Regions from separate parts of the Homo sapiens genome. Here regions 1 and 3 are each linked to region 2. Evidence: promoter capture Hi-C in human tissues and cell types (Jung and others, 2019). All regions are on one chromosome and are shown on one strand. Each heading gives the region's core, a stretch centred on a gene start or on the middle of the fragment in contact. The rest is flanking DNA. Distances are from core to core; before and after follow the strand shown.

What was found. The method cuts DNA at HindIII sites, captures the fragments that hold promoters and counts their contacts. A contact is called where the count stands out against the background at its distance.
Region 1: a fragment that was not itself captured here is called in contact with the fragment with the promoter of UNC80 in region 2 in 1 of the 25 tissues and cell types used here (dorsolateral prefrontal cortex).
Region 3: a fragment that was not itself captured here is called in contact with the fragment with the promoter of UNC80 in region 2 in 2 of the 25 tissues and cell types used here (dorsolateral prefrontal cortex and hippocampus).

The regions. Positions count from the first base shown.
Region 1 is chr2:209,410,628-209,414,381 of GRCh38, forward strand. No RefSeq gene overlaps it. Among named protein-coding and RNA genes, the nearest start is that of MAP2, 12 kb to the right of the region's middle. The HindIII fragment of the contact is 3,407 bases long and covers 1-3,003 here.
Region 2 is chr2:209,769,816-209,773,792 of GRCh38, forward strand. It overlaps UNC80 (unc-80 subunit of NALCN channel complex), which reads left to right and starts at 2,017. Exons shown (of 65, transcript NM_001371986.1): 1 at 2,017-2,349; 2 at 3,279-3,327. The coding sequence starts at 2,258. RefSeq lists an enhancer at 3,576-3,977. The HindIII fragment of the contact is 3,928 bases long and covers 624-3,977 here.
Region 3 is chr2:209,427,603-209,431,695 of GRCh38, forward strand. All of the region lies in intron 1 of MAP2 (microtubule associated protein 2), which reads left to right. Among named protein-coding and RNA genes, the nearest start is that of MAP2, 5.6 kb to the left of the region's middle. The HindIII fragment of the contact is 5,532 bases long and covers 1-4,093 here.

The DNA of each region.
Region 1 (3,754 bases), core at 50-2,549, 360 kb before region 2:
TTGTTAAAATAGCAATGCCCCCAAACCGATCTATAGATTCAATGCAATCTTTATCAAAGTTGCAACTTCCTTTTTGTGTTATTGTCACAGAAATTGACTAGCTGATCCTAGAATTCATATGGAAATGCAAGGAACTTAAAGTGGCCAGAATAGCCTAGAAAAAGAACAAAGTTGGAGGACTCACACTTCCTAATTCTAAAAGTTGCTCCAAAATTACAGTAATTAAAACAGTGTGCTGCTCCTATAAAAATAGACACATAGCTCAATGGAATAGAAATGAGAGTCCAGAAATAAACCCTCACAGTTTTGGTCAACTGATTTTAAAGAGTATGCCATGACAAATCAATAGGGGAAAGAGTCGTCTTCAACAAATGTTGGTGGGACAACTGGTTATCCACATGCAAAAGATGAAGTTGGACTCGTATCTCATATCTTATAAAAAGTAACTCAAAACGGACCAAGCACCTAAATGTACAAACTATAAAACTCCTAGAAGAAAAAAGGTATACATCTTCATGACCTTAAATTAAGCAATATTATTTTAGAAATAACATCAAAAGTACAAGCAATCAAAGAAAAAAATGAATTAATTGGACTTTATAAAAATTGAAAACTTTTGTTATAACGGAGAGAATCAAGAAAGTGAAAAAGGGAATTCATAGAATCAGAGAAAATATTTGCAAATCATATGTCTGATAAAGGATTAGTATCCAAAATGTGTAAAGAACACTAACGATAAAACTATAGATAATCTAATTTTTTAAATAGGCAAAGGATAGACAATTTTTCACATAAAATATATAAGTGGCCAATAAGCACATGAAGACATGCTCAACATTATTAGTCATTATTAGTCATTAGGAATATACAAACCCAAATCACAATAATATACCACTTCCCACTTACTAGAATAGCTATGATCAAACAAGACAATAACAAGTGTTGATGAGAATGTGGAGAAATTGACACCTTCATGCATTGCTTATGGAAATGTAAAATGGTGTATCTGTTTTGGGAAAAGTTTTAGCAATTACTCAAATTGTTAAAAATATAATTAAAATATAACCCAGCAATATCATGCCTAGGTATACACACAAAAGAATTGAGAATGTCCATAAAACTACTTGTATAGTACTGTGCTTAGCAGCACAATTCACAATAGCCCAAAAGTGGAAACCACCCAAATGTGCATCAACTCTTTATCAACAGATAAACAGAAGTGTTATGGCCATGCAAAAGAACACGACTGAGTCATAAAAAAGGAATGAAGTACTTATGCTTGCTACAACATGAATGCGCCTTGAAAATATTATGCCAAGTAAAAGAAGTCAGTCATAAAGCGCTGCATGGTGTATGCTTCCATTGATATGACATGTCCAAAATAAGCCAATCCATAGAGACTGAGGAGAAGGAAGAATGGAAAGTGGACTGCTAATGGTTGTAGAGTTTCATTTTGTGGTGATAAAAATGTGGAAATTCGTGGCAATGGTTGTACCACTGTAAATATGCTAAACCTCACTGGATTGTACTCTTTATAAGAGTGAATTTTGTGATATCTGAATTATAACAAAATTTAAAAAGTAAAACATGAAAAAGATAAGCTATGTCAATCTTAACCAAAAGAAATCTGAAATTATTTTATTAATATTACACAAAGTAAACTTCAGAAAAGCAATATTACCTGGAAAGGAGGGATAGTAACCATTTTACAGGGAACAATTCAGCAAGAAGACAGAAAATCCTACTTGCATATATATATTATTTTGGAGGTTCAAAATGCATGATGGAAAATCTAATAGAATGGAAAAGAAAAATGACAAATCTACAATTTTGGTCGGATATTTCAACACTCTTGCCTCCACTTATAAATGGAATAAAGCACAGGGGTTGGGCTGGAATAAAAAGAAAATATGTAAGAATATTGATACAAACAATATTAAGCAAATTTATACAACTGGCAGTTTTAAACACTCAACAGCAGTAGGTACATATTGTTTCTTTACAGATTTATTGGGATATAATTTACACACCATAAAATTCACCTATTGTTAGTGTATAGTTTGACGCATTTTACTAGGTTTAGGTGATTGTGCCCCCATAACAATAATATGGTCTTAGAACACTAGGATGACCACAATAAGTTCTCTTATGAGGCTTATAGTGAATTGTTGCTCACACTCTTAGGCCTCAGGCAACCAGTGATATCCATTTTGTTTCAACAGTTTAGCCTCTTTAAATTTCATACGAATGAATTCATGTAGTAAGTAGTCTTTTGCATCTGATTTCTCTAACTTAGTAAAATCTCTTGGAATTTTATCCCACTTGTTGCATGTATCAGTATTCTGTCCCTTAAATTGTGTGCATTATTCTAGTGTAGAAATATATCACAAATTATTTATTCATTCACTACTTCATGGGCATTTTGATAAATTCCTATTTTCAGCTATTACGAATTGTGCTGCTATGAACATTGAGATGAACAACTTGATGTAGACATATGTTTTCATTTATTTTGGGTAGATGGCTGGGAGTAGAATACTTAGGTCATATGGCAAGTGCATGTTTAAATTTTTAAGAAGCTTACTAACTGCTTCCTAGAGTAGATCGCTATGTCTTGAGTATGGCCCCTTAAGTTCATGTGTTGGGAACTTAATCTCCAATGCAACAGTGCAGAGAGGTCGGACCTTTAAGAGGTCATTAGCTCATGAAGGTTTTGCCCTCATGAATGAATTAATGCTGTTATTGCAGGAGTGGGTTAATTATCAAGAGGGTGGGTTCCTGATGAAAAAAGAGTTCAGCACCTCACCCTCCACCCCAACCCCTATGTGTGATATTGCCCTTCTGCTTTCTGGTAGAGAATGATGTGTCAGGAAGGCCCTCACCAGATGCAAGCCTCTCCACTTGGGACTTCTCAGACTCCGGAACTGTAAGCAATAAATCTTTCTTCTTTATAAATTACCCAGTCTCAGAAATTCTGTTACAGTAGCACAAAACAGACTAAGATGTGGGTGTACAATCTTACACTCTTACCAGTGATGTATGAGAATTCCAGTTTTCTTCCCACCCATATCAGTACTTGATATTGTCTCTCTCTCTCTCTCTTTTTTTTTTTTTTTGTAGCCTTTCTATTGTGTATGTTGTGGTATGTCATTGTGGTTTGAATTTGCATTTTCCTAATGGTTACTGATATTAACACCTTTTTTGTTCTTAACAGCCTTTACTATATCTTCTGTGGTAAAGTGTCTATTCAAATATTTTGCCTTTTGCAAGGGTAGGATGTGATGTTTATCTCTTTATTATTAAGTTTGAGAGTTCTTTATAATTTCTGGATACAAGTCTTTTATAGGACATAATGATTTGGAAGTATTTACTCCCAGTTTTTGGCTTGCCAATTTTTTTCTGAACGGAATCTTTTCGAGAGCAAAAGCTTTTAATATTAAAGATATCTATTTTTTTCCATTTTTGATAATCCTTTAGGTGACATACCAAAGAAGTTTTTGCCTAATTTGAATCACAAATATTTTCTTCTATGTTTTTTCCTAGTTTTAAAACTTTATCTCTTATATTTGGGTATCTCACCCATTTTAAGTCAACTTTTGATATACATTTTTAGGATCACATAGAATATTAGTCAAGATAGACCCTATGGCCATAAAACAAGCCTCAATACATATAAGAGAATAAAAATCATATGAAATATGCTTTCTGCTACAATTGAATTAAATTTATAATTTAAATTTTAATTTAATTTAAT
Region 2 (3,977 bases), core at 767-3,266:
TCACTTTTCTAGGATATTATATTTAGTTAATGGTAGGGCTAGAGCCAAAACTGTCTGGCTCAAGACCTAAGCTCTTAACCAATGTGCTATTTTTCTTTTCCCATACCCACTTGGTCATCATATCCTATTAATTCTACCTCTGCAATATTATTCAAACTCACCCCCTTGTCTGTAGTTCTGCTATTATGATCAGGGTTCAGGATCTCATAAAACATTTCTCTAATCTTCATACTGGGGTTCCTAATACAACTTTTGCCTGTTTCAAATAATCCCTACATTCCTGTCATGTCATTCACACTTAAATGGATATGAAGTTTCTACTTCTCTGCTTAAAGGCCTTCTAGGAAAACTTTCTAGCCTGTCATACAAAGTCTCCATCTGATTCCTACACATAATTTCTGCCTTGACCTTTTGTTCATAACTGAATCTGCATTCGTATCTCCCATGATTCTTTTCTCTTTTCATGTCTGTCTTCTCTTAATATTCAGACTTCCTTGTGAGCAAGAGTCCATATAGCTCCATAGAGCTATGAGTATATAAAATACACTCAATAAATATGCCTTGAGTAAACTGTACTTAGAATCTTTCTTTGTTTCAAGATCCATATTTGAGATCATAAGATCCATATTTTTGAGATTCATAATAAAAGATAACTTCAAGAAAGTAAATGAAGAATTTATTTCTATGGCAAAAAATATTGATATATACTATGCTGTTAATTATATATGAAATATTACATCTGTTGAGATTAGGACCTGGAGTCTGATTCTTCATTTCATGGATTACACCAATATCTTTGCTCTAAAAGATGAGGCCAGGCATGGTGGCTCATGCCTGTAATCCCAGAACTTTGAGAAGCCAAGGTGAAAGGATTGCTTGAGCCCAGGAGTTTGAGACTAGCCTGGGAAACATAGTGTGACCCCCATCTCTACAAAAATAAAAAATTAGCTGGGAGTAGTGGTGCACACCTGTAGTCCCAACTGTTGGGGAGACTGAGCTGAGAGGATCTCTTGAGCCTGGGAGGTCAAGGCTGCAGTGAGTCGTGATCACACGTCTGCACTCCAGCCTGGTTGAAGAGCGAGATTCCGTCAAAGAACAAGAAAGAAGAAAGAAGGAGAAGGAGGAGAAGAGGAGGAGGAGGAGAAGGGGGAGGAGGAGGAGGAAGAAGGAGAAGGAGGAGGGGGAGGAGGAGGAATTGCAGGTAGTTACTATTCCGATTGCTTCACCCCACCTCACCCCCCTCCCCGGCCTACTTGTTTTACTCCTAGATAATATATCTAACAGCAATCCAACTATAAAATATTAATATATGTAACATATAAGCATTTGACTATTACAACTGAAGGAAAATGGTAGCTATCACTGGGGGCGAACAGGATCACCCAAGTGCATTTAATGGACTGTAATAAACCACATTTCCTCACAGCATGATTCAAATGTTCTTCCTCAATTTGCAATTAACTGATATCCACAACTGGTTACTTTGGGAACTTTGTATTCCTGCTTTAGGAAAACAAACAAGGTTTATTTCTTGTGGTTATCATATAAAAATAACTTCTCATATCTAAGATCTTTCAAGCTTCCTCTCACTTGCCAACCTTGCCTCACCTTCCTGGTTTACACTTCTAATAATTTTCATGTGTTCCTCCGGCTAACCCCTGGACTCCTGATCTCCTTGCTGGAGGTGAGAATGATGCCAGGGTTAGCGACTGCTCTGCGGTTCCCCAAAGCTCCTCCTACCCAGACGGCGACAGTTTGGATGCTGAGGTTGGAAAGCAGGACAGGGGACACTCCTGAGTGCAGCTCGGAGCGGGGAAAGCCGAATTCCGGGGGCTGAAGAGGCCGCGCAGGGGACGAGCGCCTGCGATGCGGAGCGTGGACTTCTTGGGCCGTACCCCTGCGGCTCAAGCTGCCCCGGATTCGCTTCTCCGGCCGTGCAGCCCGGCGCGGGCCGCTGTCCACAGTGGGAGGTGCTGAAAGCAGGGAGCGGGTGCGGGGGCGGCGAGGCGGACCGCTGCTCCGAGCGCCCCCCTCCTCGCTCCGCGGCTCCTCCAGCCCTCCCCTCCTCCCGCAGCCATGTTCCACGCGCGGGGAGGGGTGGGGGGAGGGGAGAGGCACGGGGGATCAGGGCGGAGAGAGCCGGCTCTGCCTCGGGGAAGGAGGGGATGAGAGTTGGGAGCAGCGGGAGGAGGCGGCGGCGGCGGCTAGCGAGGAGACAGAGCTGGGTCCTGCAGTAGGACTCCCGGGAGCCACCATTATGGTGAAGAGGAAGAGCTCCGAGGGCCAGGAGCAGGACGGCGGCCGCGGCATCCCCCTGCCCATCCAGACCTTCCTGTGGCGGCAAACCAGGTGAGGGGCGCAGAGGGCGCACCGCGGGCCGCCCTGGGCTGGGGGCGCTCCTGGGGCCGCCCGGGTCGCCGCTGCCGCCGCCGCCGCTGAGGCCGCGCCACAGCCTGCAGCTCCCTCTCTGGGGCTGGAAAACAAGCCCTCTGCACCAGCTTAAAAACACGCATTAAAATATGTATATATATGTATATATTTCAGTGAAGTTTGACGACAAGCAGATTGGCAGTTGTCGCATAAATGTATACATTATTTTAGGGGGTGGGAGGGCAGAGAGCCTGGGAAGAGGGGGCGGGGAGCTAGATAATTATGACTGGTTGTGCTCCTGCGTCCAATTCCCCCTCCATCTCCTGCTGTAATTCTAGCCCAGTGACCTGTTGTTTTTCCAGCTCCTGTTTGGCGAATATCTGCTATGCCCACTTGTTAACCGTTTTGCTCAGATTAATCTCCCCAGTTAAATCTCCTGAGGATTTGTGATAAGGGACCTTCCCCCACAACCCCGGAAAGGCCTGACACCTATTCCAATAAACAGAAAAGGTTTTCTTTATTATTGTTATTTTAGAGATTTATCAGATAAGATATTAGATTCTGGAAATTATGACCCATAAGCCGTGTTCAATTTTCAGTTTTTATTATGACTGTACACGTAAGTAATGCACCACTTCTGACCACTGGCGATTTAAAATCTTAGAAGTCTTCAGATTAAGAGTGGATACCGAAAACCATCGAGATCCACTTCTCTTTCATATATGCAATTACACGTGTAAAAGAAAATGTCATCAGCTGTTCAACACCTGCTCATTAAAAAGCTATAAGGAAGCATGAAATTTGAATTTCATAGCATCCTGTCTTATTCATTGAAAAATACGTCACAAGGATGCTTTAATAATAATTTTACTTATGTTTATTAACAAATATCTCTATTAATTTTTCAGTGCATTTTTGAGGCCCAAACTGGGGAAGCAATATGAAGCTTCTTGTGTGGTATGTGATTTTCACCATTTAATAATTATTTCCCTATTCTGTGTGGTGGTTTGAACCCAAAGACAGATTTTAAATCAAACGGACTATATATATTAATTCACTTGGCAAATATTATTGATCACCCACTCTGTGCCAGGCACAATTCTCTGTGCTGGAATAGAACAATGATAAAAACAAATACAGTGTTTACATCCTAGTAGAAAGGGGACAAGCCACAAACAAATAAGTAAATACATAGTAAGCCAGATGGTGGTAAGCACTATGGAGAAAAATTAAGCAAAAAGAAATACTAGGAAGCACTAGGGAGGGGAGTTTTATAAGAATGGATAGATAAGGCTTATCTACCCATTAATGTGAACCTTGGCCAAAGACACAAGGGGAAGGGAGGGAAGGACAGCTGAGGGAAGAGCAGAGGAAACATGTTAAAGGAAATTAGCACCTACTGGGGAATAAGTGAAAGGGTGGGGCGGGATCGAGTGGTAGAAGAGAAGGCAGAGAGATAACAGGGAACCAGGTGGTGTAGGGTGTTTTTGCCACCTGCAAGTGTGAAGTCGAATCCTTAATCAACAAAACTGAGACTTATAGTGGAAGTTCATATGATGGAGTGCCTGTGAAAGAACTACTTGAACAAAATATATGCATTTCTGCAC
Region 3 (4,093 bases), core at 615-3,114, 340 kb before region 2:
GTTTCAGTAATGTTACTCTCTTGATACAAATTTGGCCTTTATTTTTCATTAAGGAGAGCACTTATTACCATTTATGTATTTATTTATTCATTATGAGAAACAACTTTTGATATTCTCAGTTTTCAATTGCAGAAAATGATTCTAGGCACCAAAAGCAGTTAAAAGTCTGCAAATTAATATGTAGTACACAAAAGGCCAAAGTCAAGGGAGACAGTCTGTATGAAGGTTTGGGTGGGTGGGTAGGTGGGTGGGCGTAGAGGAAGATGTGGAATGAAAGCAAATTCTCAGCTATTAAAAGCTGTCCATGTAGGGTAGAGATGAGCCTTTTTGTCTAAGAGGGTGAAGAAGGAATAAATGTTTTGTTTTTCTGTTTCAACATATTTTGTCCCCATCCCTCCCCTGTCATGTCTTTGAACTAAGGCCATGGTGCTTCCTTATAAAAATTATACAGTATGTTTATTGGAAGGAGTTTTACAGTGAATTAGGTGAATTCAGAATTTTAAAATGATGTGAACACAATTAGATGAATTTTTATGAAAAACACTTTGAATCTAATCTTTGATCTTTCCTGTTCAAGACATAAGCTTTCCTTTGAATGGTAGTACTTTAACTGTAATACATTTTACTTAAACATTTCAGTAAAATTCTATGGAAAGTTAGACAAAATAAAGAGCTCAGGATCCTCTTTCAGTCTACTGTTAAGTTTATATTGTGGAAGTTGGGGAAAGTTTTAGACAGTTTGTTTTCCGTTAAAACACACACTAGAGGGGGCAAATTTCTTTTTTTTTTTTTTTGCTTTTTGTTATGTTAATGAGCAAATAATTTACTTTTAAGATCACATACCTTGACTTTTTTCTTTCCTTTTTTGTCTTCTTTCCATTCTCCTCTTTCCCTTTTCTTTTCTTCTTTACTTAGATTGCTCCTTTCTTTCAGTTTGTATTGGCAAAATAAACATTGGTCTTTAGAAAATGAAATTATAGCCTGATATTCTTATTGAAATTTATTTTTCATTATATTTATATTTCTCATTTAACATGAAGTTTTATGCTAACCTCTCCTCCTTCTCAAGGCTCCATCCCTATCTTGGTCCTTTCTTTGAACTTGGCTTTTATATCCCCTAGGCTTCAACAGTTTTTTCCTTGTATACCAATCTTTCATAACGCTTTGTACCTCAAAAAGGCCTTTAAAAACCAGAAGAAAAGTTACTACCCTATTTCTCCCGATTAGTTTGTATCCAAGTTTATTCAGGTTCCCTTAGGTTATAGGTAATTGCTCGCCTCAATGTGTCCTCATTAGCCTTCTTTGAATTACTTTATTTTATTTTATTTATTTATTTATTTATTTATTTATTTATTTATTTATTTATTTTGAGACGGAGTCTCGCTCTTTCGCCCAGGCCGGAGTACAGTGGCGCCATCTCGGCTCACTGCAAGCTCCGCCCCCCGGGTTCACGCCATTCTCCTGCCTCAGCCTCCCGAGTAGCTGGGACTACAGGCGCCCGCCACCGCTCCCGGCTAATTTTTTGTATTTTTAGTAGAGACAGGGTTTCACCTTGTTAGCCAGGATGATCTCGATCTCCTGACCTCGTGATCCGCCCGCCTCAGCCTCCCAAAGTGCTGGGATTACAGTCATGAGCCACCGTGCCCGGCAATTACTTTAAAGACATTTTCAGACAAAAGTAATACATGTATACAACGAATTTTTTTAAATAAAAAATTTGGCTAGCCAACTGACTTTTTATTATTTTGTTCATCAGACACTATAAAACATGGTTCAACTAGTTTTTTTTTTTTAACAACTAGTAAAGTTACTATGTGTCAGGCAGTCCATTGTCTTTATGTTAGTTAACTAGTTCCACTAATGTGTACCTATTAAGTGAAGTATGAACTACTCTATGAGCAATCAGTAAATGTTGAACTAAATTAATTTAATTTTAAGTAAAATATTCCTAATTACATTTCTCTGTATAGCATCATCATTAGCCATCTTAATCTACCTCAAAAATGACCATAAAATACAGTGCTTGAATATCATGAGATATTTCATCGCTTAACTGTCTAGGTCCTTTACAGTTAAAGCAAACTCACAAGTAAATATACAAACTGACTCTATTTGAGACAAAACCATCATTTCAATATGAACCCTTTACATTTATTTAAGTAGTAATGGATTTTAGGTGGCTACTACCTTTGCATTACAACAATTTAAAAGTACAACATTGTGTTGTTAATGCATGGTGCTGAAATTACATAATGAATTGGCATGAGAAAGTGTTCATCAATTTTAAAATGAATAATATGGTATCATTTTGATTGGTATTAAGGCAATTAAATAATGCTCGGCTTTGACATTTTACTATTTTATTTGGGTATTGTACCTCTCAAATTGGTAATTTTCTCTTCCCTTAAGAGTCTACCTTTTTGAGCAAAATAATGTATTAAGTAATAGGCTGCCTATTTTTTATTGTTGTTTATATGATTCACTACGTCCTTTTGGCCCACTTTGAAAAACAAGCAAAAAAGTTTTTAGGATTCAGTTATTCATTCTTTTTATCTTAATAGGTCATCTAGTATAGCCAGGAAAATATTTGATTCTTTAATTTGCTACAAAACTTATTTATTGTTTGAACAAAATTTTCAATCTGTAGCATACAATTTCTTTACTTAGTGGATGAGAACATGGAATTATAATACTTGTAACAACTTCTCAGCCTGCTAATTTTGTCTACCTGGTGTTTCACAAGGGCTAACATGATGGTGGCAGTGGTGGTATTTGTGTGTTTGTGTATAATTACTTTCTAAGATAGAGTTAGACTTTTATATATTTGCTTTTTTCATTGGTGAAATCAATTATTATGCAATCAGTTGATTCCACATGAGAACAGTTGGTATTAAATACAATTTAATAGGGAAAACAATGACCAAGTATTTATTAATGAAATCAAATTAGATTAATATTAAAGTATTGCTGTATTTTTCTGTTTGGATTAAGATAGTCCAGATTCCATTGTTCATTATTGAAATCAAATGGTAAAGCTAAATCTTGTGCTCAAAATTAAAACATCTCCATGTTGATCAAAATGTCCTAAGTTGGAATACTGGCTACTTAAATGTATCTTTTAAGAAGTTCAGGTGACACTGCTTTTACATGGAAAATGCCCTTTATCTTCACTTAAACATCAGAAACCAGGACTGATGGAACTTTTAAGAATTTTGCTGCTAGGAGAACATAAAATACTAAGCATCTACTGAAACCTGAATCTCTTATAAAACAACCAAGTGACTATGATCTAGGACTTATTTAAAAGATCTTTGGCCACTGTATCTCAGACTAAAGTTTTGCCTTATTCGGGATGAAGATTATTTCAGAGCACTGAGTGGCCTTTGGTGAAACTTAACAGTTTTTTTCATTTGTTTAAGTTCTTATAGCTTTAAAACTCAGTCACGAATTTCATGCTTTTTCTTCTTTTGTCTTCAGTAGCACCATATTGAGAGTGGTCAATATCAAAACTGGCAGTATGAAGCTTTGTACAATCCTGGACATTCTTACTGCCTTATTTAGTCGCTTCCCAAATGGTATCATGAGGGTATTAATAGGAATGCAAAGTTCTCCATTAAAAAAATGGCATTTAAAATGGATAAACTGATTTTTAATAAAATCTTTTTATTCCTAACATATTTATGATTTATGTAATGGAATAACTTTTTGTAGCCCTGTTAATTACTGGATTAGAAGGACTGTGTGTTTACATATCTGGAAATATTTAAAATGCTATTAAATGCATTCTTTTTGTAATTAGTTAATTATTTTTTACATTTACAAATGAGAGTTACAAATACATTCTTTATTTCTGTGCCTCTGCCCCATCACTGAAAAGGCATCAATTCTCAAGACTTGCTATTTATATATGAATTAGAGAATGTTTGATGGGGAAAAGAGACTATCAAGGGCAAATGTTGTGAACCTGTGGAGTACATATAAGTAAACTGGGACAGTGACCATTTAAGTGACTTTCCTTATCTAGTTAGTAGGGGAAGCAGGCCTGAGACTCAATAATTCAGGCTCAAACTCAGTGCTTGGTAAGAGGTGTCAC